3 separate regions of the Homo sapiens genome follow, and regions 1 and 3 are each linked to region 2. Evidence: promoter capture Hi-C in 16 types of primary human blood cells and fetal thymus (Javierre and others, 2016). All regions are on one chromosome and are shown on one strand. Each heading gives the region's core, a stretch centred on a gene start or on the middle of the fragment in contact. The rest is flanking DNA. Distances are from core to core; before and after follow the strand shown.

Region 1 (3,588 bases), core at 319-2,818, 180 kb before region 2:
TAGCCGAGCGTGGTGGCGGGCGCCTGTAGTCCCAGCTACTGGGGAGGCTGAGGCGGGAGAATGGTGTGAACCCAGGAGGCGGAGCTTGCAGTGAGCGGAGATCGGCGCCACTGCACTCCAGCCTGGGTGACAGAGCAAGACTCCGTCTCAAAACAAAACAAAAACACATCCTTATCAAAAAATAAAAAACTCAAGCCAGCCTGGGAAGGACCCTATTTTATGCTGTTAACCACTAAGACCCCTGTCCACACAGCCAAGAAAAAAAGGACCCACTATACTCAAATCAAGAAAACATCTTAGGTTACTATACTAAAATCAAGCCCTACTAAGTTAAAATTTTAAAAAGCTTAATTTTCATATACTTTCTCTATTACTTCCTTTCCTTTCCTTATTCTGTTATAGCTCCCTTGTTATTAATGTAACTAAATCTAACTCACCTCAAACCATTGCCTTTAATGCTTGCTCTATCATACCTTGTAAAAATATTAAAAAATCAATGACAGCTAGCCTTTTCACACAAATATTTATGTCCTGGCCCTCTAATTAACACAATTACCCCTAACACTTATTGTTATAATCACCTGCAGCCAAAACGCCAATTTTCTGCTCCTACTGAGAGGTGAAGCCAGCTGGACTTCCTGGGTTGAGTGGGGACTTGGAGAACTTTTCTGTCTTACAAGAGGATTGTAAAATGCACCAATCAGCACTCTGTAGCTAGGACTGTAAAACACACCAATCAGTGCTCTGTAAAACGCACCAATCAGCAGAATCCTAAAAGTAGCCAGTGACAGGGAAGATTGAAAAAAGGACATTCTGATAGGACAGAAATGGAACATGGGAGGGGCCAATAAGGGAATAAAAGCTTGCCACCCCCGCCCCCCAGCCAGCAGCGGCAGCAACCTGCTCGGGTCCTGTTCCATGGTTTAGAACCTTTGTTCTTTCTCTCTCCACAATAAATCTTGCTGCTGCTCACTCTTTGGGTCCGTGCCACACTTAAGAGGTGTAACACGCGACTTCATTCTTGAAGTCAGTGAGACCACAAAGCCACTGGAAGGAACCAACTCCGGATACACTACAGCCTAACAACCTTATAATAAATGGAACGACGTCCTTTAAATTACTCAAGAGCAAAGTTAAACTTCCACACACACACAAAAAAAACATACAGATCTAAAACCCTTCATCTATTTCATTAAAAAACCTACCCAACCTTCTCAATATAACCCTGTCCTTCTGTCACCACCTCCACCTTAACTAACTCTAAACCTACCCTTAATCACTTCTATAATATAGAAATTTGACATAAATTTTTAAAAACCCTAAATATTTTTAAAATACACATTATTCCCCCATCTTCCCCTTCTTCAGTAGCCTAAGTTCTAAATCCGACACCAGTTACTCCTGCATCTAATAAAAGTAGAATGCCTATTATAAAAATAAAAAATTAAAGACAGACCTTAGCCATCAAAACAATACATCAAAATACAAATGCCTAGCTAAAATATTCCATTCACACTTTAAAAACAATTATTACACTATTACATTTGTACACATGGTACTCCAGAGGCCCAAATTATCCCCTTTCCACTTAAATGGTCACCTCATCAACCAAATATAAACTATATAGTAGCTCTTTTTCAAAATCCCACTGCTTAAAATAATCCATCATGCCAAGCTCTCTCTGCTATTTCCTAAAATTTAACACTGTGCGGGTCAGCCCCTGAGGACAATCCAGCTTGCACCTTTTCTAAATGCCAAACTTACACTGTGCCTCTCATGGCAAGAAAAAAATTTAATATTCCTTAAAAGCATTTAAAAAATGCTTTTTCCAAAAGCTCGCCCATCAATCCATGCTTAGCCATCCCCAAGCAAATATATGGTAGTACTGTAAAGGACCTTTACTAAACGCTGTGCCAAATATTTGAAACAGTACTAATCCAGTTAGCTGTCCTTCACTCTAGCATTTCATCAATCTAAAAAAATAAAAACAAAACACCGCAGGCCAAAAAAAATTCCTTGTAAGTCCTTTAATCCTCAAGTTTATATAAATGCTATTAAAATCCTGTAAAAAAAATTTCAAATAAATTTAAAATACAAAATCAAATAGCTGCAAAATTTAAGTCCACGTTATTCTGGTAAGTATGAATTTAAAAAATGTAAACTAAACTGTATCTGTTACAATCAGCAACAATTCATAAATTACACTGAAAACGCCATCAAAAAAATAGCTAAGCAATTAGGACCTACCAGACAAATTGCCTTAAAAAAAGCTTTAAATATAATATCAGCAAAAAAAAAAAGTCATAATTAAAACTCAATATTGTACCTTTATTCCTAATACTGCCCCTAACAAAACTATAACAAAAGCACTACAAAAATTAACAGCACTATCCAATAAACTTGCCAAAAATTCTAAAATAAATAACCCTTTTTCTAAAATAATAAAACATTAATTCGATAAGTAAAAAAAAAAATTGTGGCCAGGCATGGTGGCTCACGTCTGTAATCCCAGCACTTTGGGAGGCCGAGGCAGGTGGATCACGAGGTCAGGAGATCAAGACCATCCTGGCTAACACGTCTCTACTAAAAATACAAAAAATTAGCCGGGCGTGGTGGCGGGCGCCTGTAGTCCCAGCTACCAGGGAGGCTGAGGCAGGAGAATGGCGTGAACCCGGGAGGTGGAGCTTGCAGTGAGCCGAGATCATGCCACTGCACTCCAGCCTGGGCGACAGAGTGAGACTCCACCTCAAAAAAAAAAAAAAAAAAATTAACTTCAATTCTCACCTTGTTCGCTCTTATTAATATACTTATAAGCTATTATGTTATTCCCTGCCTTCAAAATTTTATACAAAAACTTATCTCTACCACTCTTACAAAGTTAACTCCTAACTCTCCTCCACCCTATTCGAAAAATTACTTCTCTTAAAGCTATTAAAACAGACAAATTAAAAAAAAATTATAAGAGGGAGAATTGTAAAAAGTAAAATAGAGTTTTCTCTTCAAAGCCTTTCCTCCCCATCTAATTAAAAATAAATAGTAACTTCTCTTAGAAGCAAAATTTATTCAAAGACCTGTGCTAAGATTCTTAAATATCTGCTAGCCATAATAAAAAAATCAGTATACTTTATATTCTTAGCTCCCACAATTTAGCCTAAATATTTGCCCTAGCATACTTATACTAGTCCAAGAAAGCAGTAAGTCACATCCTGTTCCTCTTCCTTATTTAAAAGTATTTTTACCTTTCTCAACATTCCTTCCTTTATTCTCCTCTGCGTTTGCCTCTTTTAAAAAATTCAAAGTTACTAACCAATCAAAACAAATACAAAATGTAAAATCCCATTCCACCCAATAAAAACTGGACACAGCAATAAGGTGGACATGTCAGGTTATAAATAACCTTATCTCCTTTATTCAATATACTCTCATAACAAAACTGCGAGCAAGTATACCCTTTCTACAAAAAATATAAAAATAGCCTTACTAAAAAAATTTATATTCAAGTGCTATTTCTTTACACCACCAGAAAACAAACATTTCAAGCAGGTTGCATTGAGCTGAGATAACGCCACTGCACTCCAGGCTGGGTAA
Region 2 (3,406 bases), core at 592-3,091:
GCTGGCGGGGGCGGGCGGTGATCCCCAGGCTGGAGGCTCAGCGCCCGCCCTGGTGCAGGTGCCGCCCGCCCCGCACCGGCCCAGGGCAGGTGAGAGGTGGGCAGGCGAGAGGGCAGCACGGAGGATGGGCAGCGGCCAGGGCATTCCTTTCCGGAGAGAGCCTCGAGGCCGAGGAGCCTAGGGCCGGGCGCGCCCCCGCCGGGCCGGATGGGCGGGGGCTCCCACAAAGAGCCGCAGGCGGGGAGCGGGACCCGGGACCGCCCCCCGCATCGCCAAGCGCCGCCGCTGACTTTGGTTACGACAAATTAAACCTTAGAGCGCTGGAAAAATTACAGGAAGAAGAGAGCGAAGAATGTGCCGAGTGGCGAAGGAAACCTTGTCCCTGCGTGAACTTCGCCCGCCGCGCGCCGGGGCCGGCCCCTCCCCTCCTGAGCGCGCGCCCGGGCAGCGGGGGAGGAAACGAGGAGGGACCCCGGAGAGCGTCCCCTGCCCCCGCTCCGGGCGCCCCACCGTCACGAGTGCCGCCTGCGGTCCACACCCAGGCCGCCCGCACCTGCCCGCGCCGCCTCCCGGCCGGGAGGGGTCCCCGCCCCCAGCCCAGATGACTATATCCGCCCCCGCGGCCCCACCCGAGCGCGCCCGGGGAGGGGGCGTGCCCGGCGGGGGCGCGGTCGCCTGGCGGGCGCCGGCTCCGAGAGCCAAGACCCGCCTCGCGCGACGCGCGGGGCCAGCCGCGGGTCGGAGCGGCAGGGGAAGGGGCGAGGCCCCGGGCGTTCCGGCCCGCCCGGCCCCCACCTCGCGCCCCATCGGGGACTCCGGGGGCGTGGTCGGGCAGCTCGCGCCGACCCCGTCCGCGCGATCCGGGCGCCCGCGCCGCCCCACTGACCTGTGTGAGTTCTCAGGTGCGCCTTGAGGTGCGAAGATTTCCCGTAAACTTTCTCGCAGCCCGCGTAGTGGCACTTGTGCTTCCTCTGCGGGGACTCGAGGTCGGCGCGACTTCGGCCCCGCCGGACCCTTTGTCTGAGGCCGGGCTCGCCGCTCCCCGCGGGCCCCGGCTCCCGCTCGGGCTCCAGCCCCGCCTCGGGCTCCGGCTCGCTCCACGCCGGGCTGGGGGGCGCGGCCGCCGCGCCTTCGGCGCCGGGGGAGGTGGGCTCGGGGGCGGGCGGCGGCAGGCGGCAGGGGGTCCTCGCCTTCCGGGCCGCGGCGCCCTCCCTGCGCTCCGCCGGGGCGGGCGCCGGCGCTTGCTGGTTGAGGTCCGCTAGGATCCGCGCCACCACGAAGAGCGAGGCGCTGTCCTTACCGTCGCGGCGCTCCTCGACGCGGGGCAGCGTGGGGGTGGCGGCCACGGCCGCGCCCTCGGGCCGGGACTCCGGCCCCTCCCGCGGCCCGTGCACGACCGCGCGGCTCGACATGGACACGAGGCACTCGGCGGCGAAGTGGTCCACATAGGCGGCGGCTGCCATGCTGCGGGCTGGGGCCGGCGGCGGTGCTCTTGCTGCGAGTCGTCAGCCGCGCATCCGCACCCACGGCCTCGGGAGAGCGGGCGGGGGGCGGGGGCGCGGCGCGCCCTCTCCTCGGGCTGGGCTGGGCTGGGCTGGGCGCGCAGCCGCCTGTGCCGTCACCCGCGCGGCTCCGCGTCTGCGAGGCGCCGGCCCGGCCGGGCACCGAAGAGTGAGCGCATGGGGCGCGCGGGCGACTGGGGTCCCCGCGCGGCGTCAGGGGCGGCCGGTTCTAAGGATGCCGAGCGGCAACGTTAGGGACCACCTCGCCAAGTCGCGGCCGCAGCTTCGCCGCGCATTGTGGCAGGCGGGACAGCTGCCGTGCGCGCCGCGGCTCCGTGTGGGCGGCCCGGCCCCGGGGGTGGGCGGGGCCGGGGCCACATCTGGACCCGACGTCAGCCCCCAGCCACATCCTGGCGGCGCAGGTTACAGGCGGCGGCGGCTGCGGGGAGCTGCGCGCGCGGAGGGGGCGGGGACCCCAGAGCGCGCACCGGCGGAACGGAGCGGTCGCGTGCCCGCGCCTGGGCAAGGGGGCGTGACCGAGGGCCGGGACAGACGCCATTGGTCCGTGAGTGCACGGCCAGGCCAATCCGAGCCGTTAGAGGGGCGTGCCCGGTCCCGGGCCCTGCGCGCGCCAGTGGGCGTGTCCCCTGGGCCGGTGGGAGGAGGGGCGGAAACTGGAGCGGGGCGCGCTGACGCATGACGTCCGGGGGCGGCGGGCCGGGTAGTCGCGGCGCGGAGCGGCTGCTTGTACCCCCCGCGGCGGGGACACAGCGAGCACTTCTCTGCCGGAGCTTTTATGTGGTGACAGCCTTGGCCCCCGGCATGGAGGGGAGCGGTTTCTGGAGGGCGCCATTTGTTCCTCCCGCGATGGGCGCCGGCGGGGAGGCGTGTCTGCCCGGCCGGGCGCGGGGCTGCCTAGGGGCGGAACGCACTCGCGCCGCGCCCTCCGCCGCCGGCTTGCCGGGTGGCCGCGCCTAGAGCCTCAGGCCGCTCGCCCTCCCCACGCCCCTGCCTTGCAGAGCTCCGGGAGTCCGGGCGGGGCAGCTCCCGCGGGAGGGACAGACTCGGGCTCGTTCCTGGGGTCCGGGGTGCGGCCGCGCTGCCCTTCAGCTCGGGTCAGCCCGAGCAGGACTGGCCTCGGCTGGCGGTGAGCCTGGCAGCCCGGGTGGCGCGCCCACCGCGGCCTGTGCCTCCAGAAGCGAACTACGTGCCAGGGCGGCCGGCGCCGCTGCTGAGGGAACGCGGGGCCCCTTCCTCCCCATCCCGCCGCAGGCCCGCTGCCAACTCTTCTAGGCTGCCCCTCTCCCACCGCGGTCGGGGGGGCTTCAAACGCCACCAGCTGCGAGGACCCCGCCCACCGCGCCCCACCCGCCCGCTGTCTGGGCCTCCCGGAGGAAATGCTCGGCTGCGCCCAGCCCGCGCCTCCCAGCCCGGGCTGGGCCACCTTGCCCTTGACTCTCACGGTAACCCCTACCCCAGCCCGCGGCCCCAGCCATTCTCCAGGCCTGGGCCGTCCTCGGAGACGCCGGTGAATAACTTCCCACCGCCGCGGAACCGGGCTCAGCAAACCCCCTACTGCCTCGCCCCGTTGCATTGTGCTTAATGGACGTTCGAAGGAGTCAGCCACCCTTGCTGTGTTCTGAGAGGAGCCTGGAGAATGAAGGAGCCCGGGCACTCACCCTCAGTGGACCCTCGCAGTGGGAGGGGGGTGTCATTCTTCTCTCAGAATTAAGGTTAATAGCCGAGTTCGAGTTCTCACCAAATTAATTTGGGGTTGGAGCTCAGTAAGACTGGTTTTCAGGTAACCGACGAGGGACCGAAACGGCCATTCTGGGTTGCGTGTTACGGTGAACAGCAAACTGCATGGATGTTTGAGCACCCTCAGTATCTGTAACTAAAACCCT
Region 3 (3,388 bases), core at 351-2,850, 190 kb after region 2:
GATAACCCAGGGTCACAAGTTCTAGTTGAGATCCCAAATTCTTCAGAAAACTTCCGTAGGTTTTTTCTAGGTTTAGGAAAATTTTAAACTATGGCTCTGAGCTCTATTTTTATCCAGGGAATATAAGTCACTTGAGTATTATTTCCTGGAGTTTGGGGTGGTTTTCTCTTATAAGAAAACTGCTTAACTGTTTTCTTCTGAGAATATAGGCAATTCCGACAGAAAGTTAATAGATTGTGAATATTTAGGCAAAATAGGATAGAGAGGAGCAGTAGGGGTCATGTCAGTTTTACTGTCCTTGGTATGGGTGATGCCTTGCACTTTTAGCTTTTTATTAGCTCTTCACAGTGAATTTTTTAAAAAGCAATTTTAGAATCTTGTTGTCTCTTTGAGACTTCTGAATGCCTGTTAGAATAATAATCCCATTCTCCCTGCCTAATTCAAGGGGCTTGAGACTCAAGTGCACTTCTTAGATAACCAGTTTTGTGTTCACCTGGAACATTCCATATAACAGCCATTGTCATTCTGAATTATCTTTAGTAAGACTTTGCCACTTTTAAGAATATCTGCAGCTTCTGGGGCCATAATTCTTGTCCATGAAAAAGGCAGGCATATCAGAAGGCAGAGTACTAAGATCTTTAGAAATTAGAGATCCCATGTTTATGTTGGCTCTTGGGTATCTCAGAGCCACGATGACTTTTGCTCTGAGACCTCACCATTGAGAAGAGAAGAAATAAAGAGGATCCCTCCAGTAATAACCACTTACTGCCACTGTTATCAGTTACCTTAGAAATGACAGTTTTGTTGCCACAGTGACTCCTCAGTCACTGCAAACCGAAAGGTGGTGTGCCCTGCCACAGCACAAATTAACCTTGGTACTCCAAATGCCAAAAATATCAGAGAGCACTAATGCAAAAGAGAGCAGAACTTCTCAGGACTCCATGAGGAAGACAGGGACCTCCCCAAAAGGTAGAGCGAGCAGGGCCTTCCCTGTGCTCCTGCAGGGGTCTCAGGGTTGTCAGATCTCTCTCTTTCAGGTTCCTTCCTTGGTTGCCAGATCTGTCAAAAGAAGAAATTACAGCAAACTTAGTTTAAATACCTCAGTTGGCTTTATTTGCAATTCTAGAATTGGGCAATACTTTATTCCATAAAAAAGAATTAGTGTTCCAATGAGCTGAGCAGAGGAGGTTGGCTTTATAGGCAAAAAAAAAAAAAAGGGTGGGGGCGGCTGAGGAAAGCAGAAACAAACAGCAAAAAGCAGATTGGTCTTTTCAAAGTGACTTTCCTTATGAGACAAGGACAGGGAGATGGAACTTCGTTCGGGTTAAGGATTAAAACAGAGGGAACTTTATTATCATGCTGATTGAAGACTGAAGGTGGCCCATTTGGTGAATTAGGGCCTTGGCCCCCACAATGGCAACATTGTCTGTTTCAGTAGCAGCCTAACCCAATCTGTGATGATGGCAGATCAGTTACCTCGTAGAGGGTGGGAACTGGATTTACCACACATGGCATTCCATGTGCTTGAAAGAGATGCTTGTTTGAACAATAAAGTGCTACAAATGCCTTCCGATTATAAATGGTGCTGTGACATCCACCTTGTGGTGGAAGACAAGAGTCCCCATGCTCAAACAGCAAGCACGGCAGGGGCTGGTGTGGGAGAGACAGGCACATGGAAACACAGAGCTAATGTCTCCGCCTCCAGACACCTCCTGCTGCCTTGGTGACCCCATGGAGCCTGGATCCGATGCTCTCCCCATTCCTACCACCCATCCAGAGGAGGCGCTGCAACCTCCTCCCACCCCCTCCTCCCACTCTCCCAGAGATAAGAAGGAGATGGCCAACATGACCATGGCCACGCCTTCCTCGGAGTTCTACACACACAGACCAAAACGCCTATACACGTTCAGGGATTTGTTGACAGATTTGTTTTTACTGAACTAAAATTACACAATTCTCATCACTATGCAACTTTATTACTGCTCCACTTACTTTTTCAAGGGTGTCTTTGTCCATTTTGTATTACTGTAAAGGAATACCTGAGGCTGGGTAATTTATAAAGAAATCTCACAGTTCTGCAGGCTGTATAGGAAGCATGGAGCCAGCGTCTGCTTCCTGTGAGGGCTTCAGGCTGCCTCCACTCATGGTGGAAGAGGAAGAGGAGCCGGTGTGTGCAGAGATCATGTGGCGAGAGAGGAAGTAAAGGAGAGAGGTGCCAGGCTCTTCTTCACAATACGCTGTTGTAGAAACCAACAGAGTGAGAGTTCACTCATTACTGCAAGGATGACGGCACCAAGATACTCCTGAGGGACCTGCCCCCATGACGCAAACACCTCCCACTAGGCCCCACCTCCAACACTGGAGATAAAATTACAGCATGAGATTTGGAGGGGAAAATAGCCACACTATAGCAATGGGTATCCCTACAAACTTAGTAGATTTAGATCTAATTCTATCTTGCATTTCTAATTATTTCATCCATATGCATGTACTTGGGTAGGATGGATCATTCTCTTTTTTTAATTTAAAAATTTTATTTATTTTTAATTTTTTTAATTGACAAGTAAAAATTGTATGCATTTATCATGTTCAACATGATGATGTTTAGAAATATTTTAATAAGGTGTTTATTTTATTTGGCCTTCTCCTTTCTTCCTAGGAAGCCCATATTGGCTATGGTGGTGTGTAACCTTCCATAATTCTCTGCTTGAGTGCACATGTAGTAATGTGTATGGATACAGAATGTGTGCACATATCTAGGGTTTTCGTCAGTGTTTACTTCTAAAGATGGCATCATAGGGAAGGAAAAATAATTTTCTCCTTCACCCTTCATGAGTTCTTACCGGGACTTCTTGTAACAAAAGACAGATAACAAGAGAAACAAACAAAAGTTTAATCATATGTATCCTTCCTGTATATATGGGGGATAACCAGGGAGTTGAGCCAATCTCTTTTTTTTTTCCTTTTGAGATGGAGTTTCACTCTTGTTGCCCAGGCTGGAGTACGATCTTGGCTCACTGCAACCTCCGCTGCCTCCCAGATTCAAGTGATTCTCCTGCCTCAGCCTCCCAAGTAGCTGGGATTACAGGCATGGGCCACCACACCCAGCTAATTTTTTGTATTTTTAGTAGAGATGGGGTTTCTCCATGTTGGTCAGGCTGGTCTCAAACTCCCGACCACAGGTGATCTGCCCACCTTGGCCTCCCAAAGTGCTGGGATTACAGGTATGAGCCACCTTGCCCAGCCGAGTCAGTCTCTTTAGTAGATCTCAAAGAGTGGTCTTAGACTTCAGGTTTAAATACCAACTTTTTCTGAAACCAAGAAGGATGGGTGTGGGGAAAGACTTGGTTAAAATGAGATGGCCCAGGAAAATCACTGGAAAACCAGA

The links. The method cuts DNA at HindIII sites, captures the fragments that hold promoters and counts their contacts. A CHiCAGO score of 5 or more calls a contact.
Region 1: a fragment that was not itself captured here is called in contact with the fragment with the promoter of KLF13 in region 2 in 1 of 17 cell types (total CD8 T cells); the score reaches 5.5 in total CD8 T cells.
Region 3: a fragment that was not itself captured here is called in contact with the fragment with the promoter of KLF13 in region 2 in 1 of 17 cell types (M2 macrophages); the score reaches 6.3 in M2 macrophages.

Annotation. Positions count from the first base shown.
Region 1 is chr15:31,504,928-31,508,515 of GRCh38, reverse strand. The region is part of intron 8 of OTUD7A (OTU deubiquitinase 7A); the gene reads left to right. Among named protein-coding and RNA genes, the nearest start is that of KLF13, 180 kb to the right of the region's middle. The HindIII fragment of the contact is 1,408 bases long and covers 865-2,272 here.
Region 2 is chr15:31,325,270-31,328,675 of GRCh38, reverse strand. KLF13 (KLF transcription factor 13) reads right to left here and starts at 1,841. Exons shown (of 2, transcript NM_015995.4): 1 at 887-1,841. The coding sequence starts at 1,463. RefSeq lists an enhancer at 2,119-2,632 and a promoter at 1,660-2,716. The HindIII fragment of the contact is 12,301 bases long and covers 1-3,406 here.
Region 3 is chr15:31,134,578-31,137,965 of GRCh38, reverse strand. It overlaps a transcript of TRPM1 not described here. Among named protein-coding and RNA genes, the nearest start is that of TRPM1, 35 kb to the right of the region's middle. The HindIII fragment of the contact is 3,931 bases long and covers 1-3,388 here.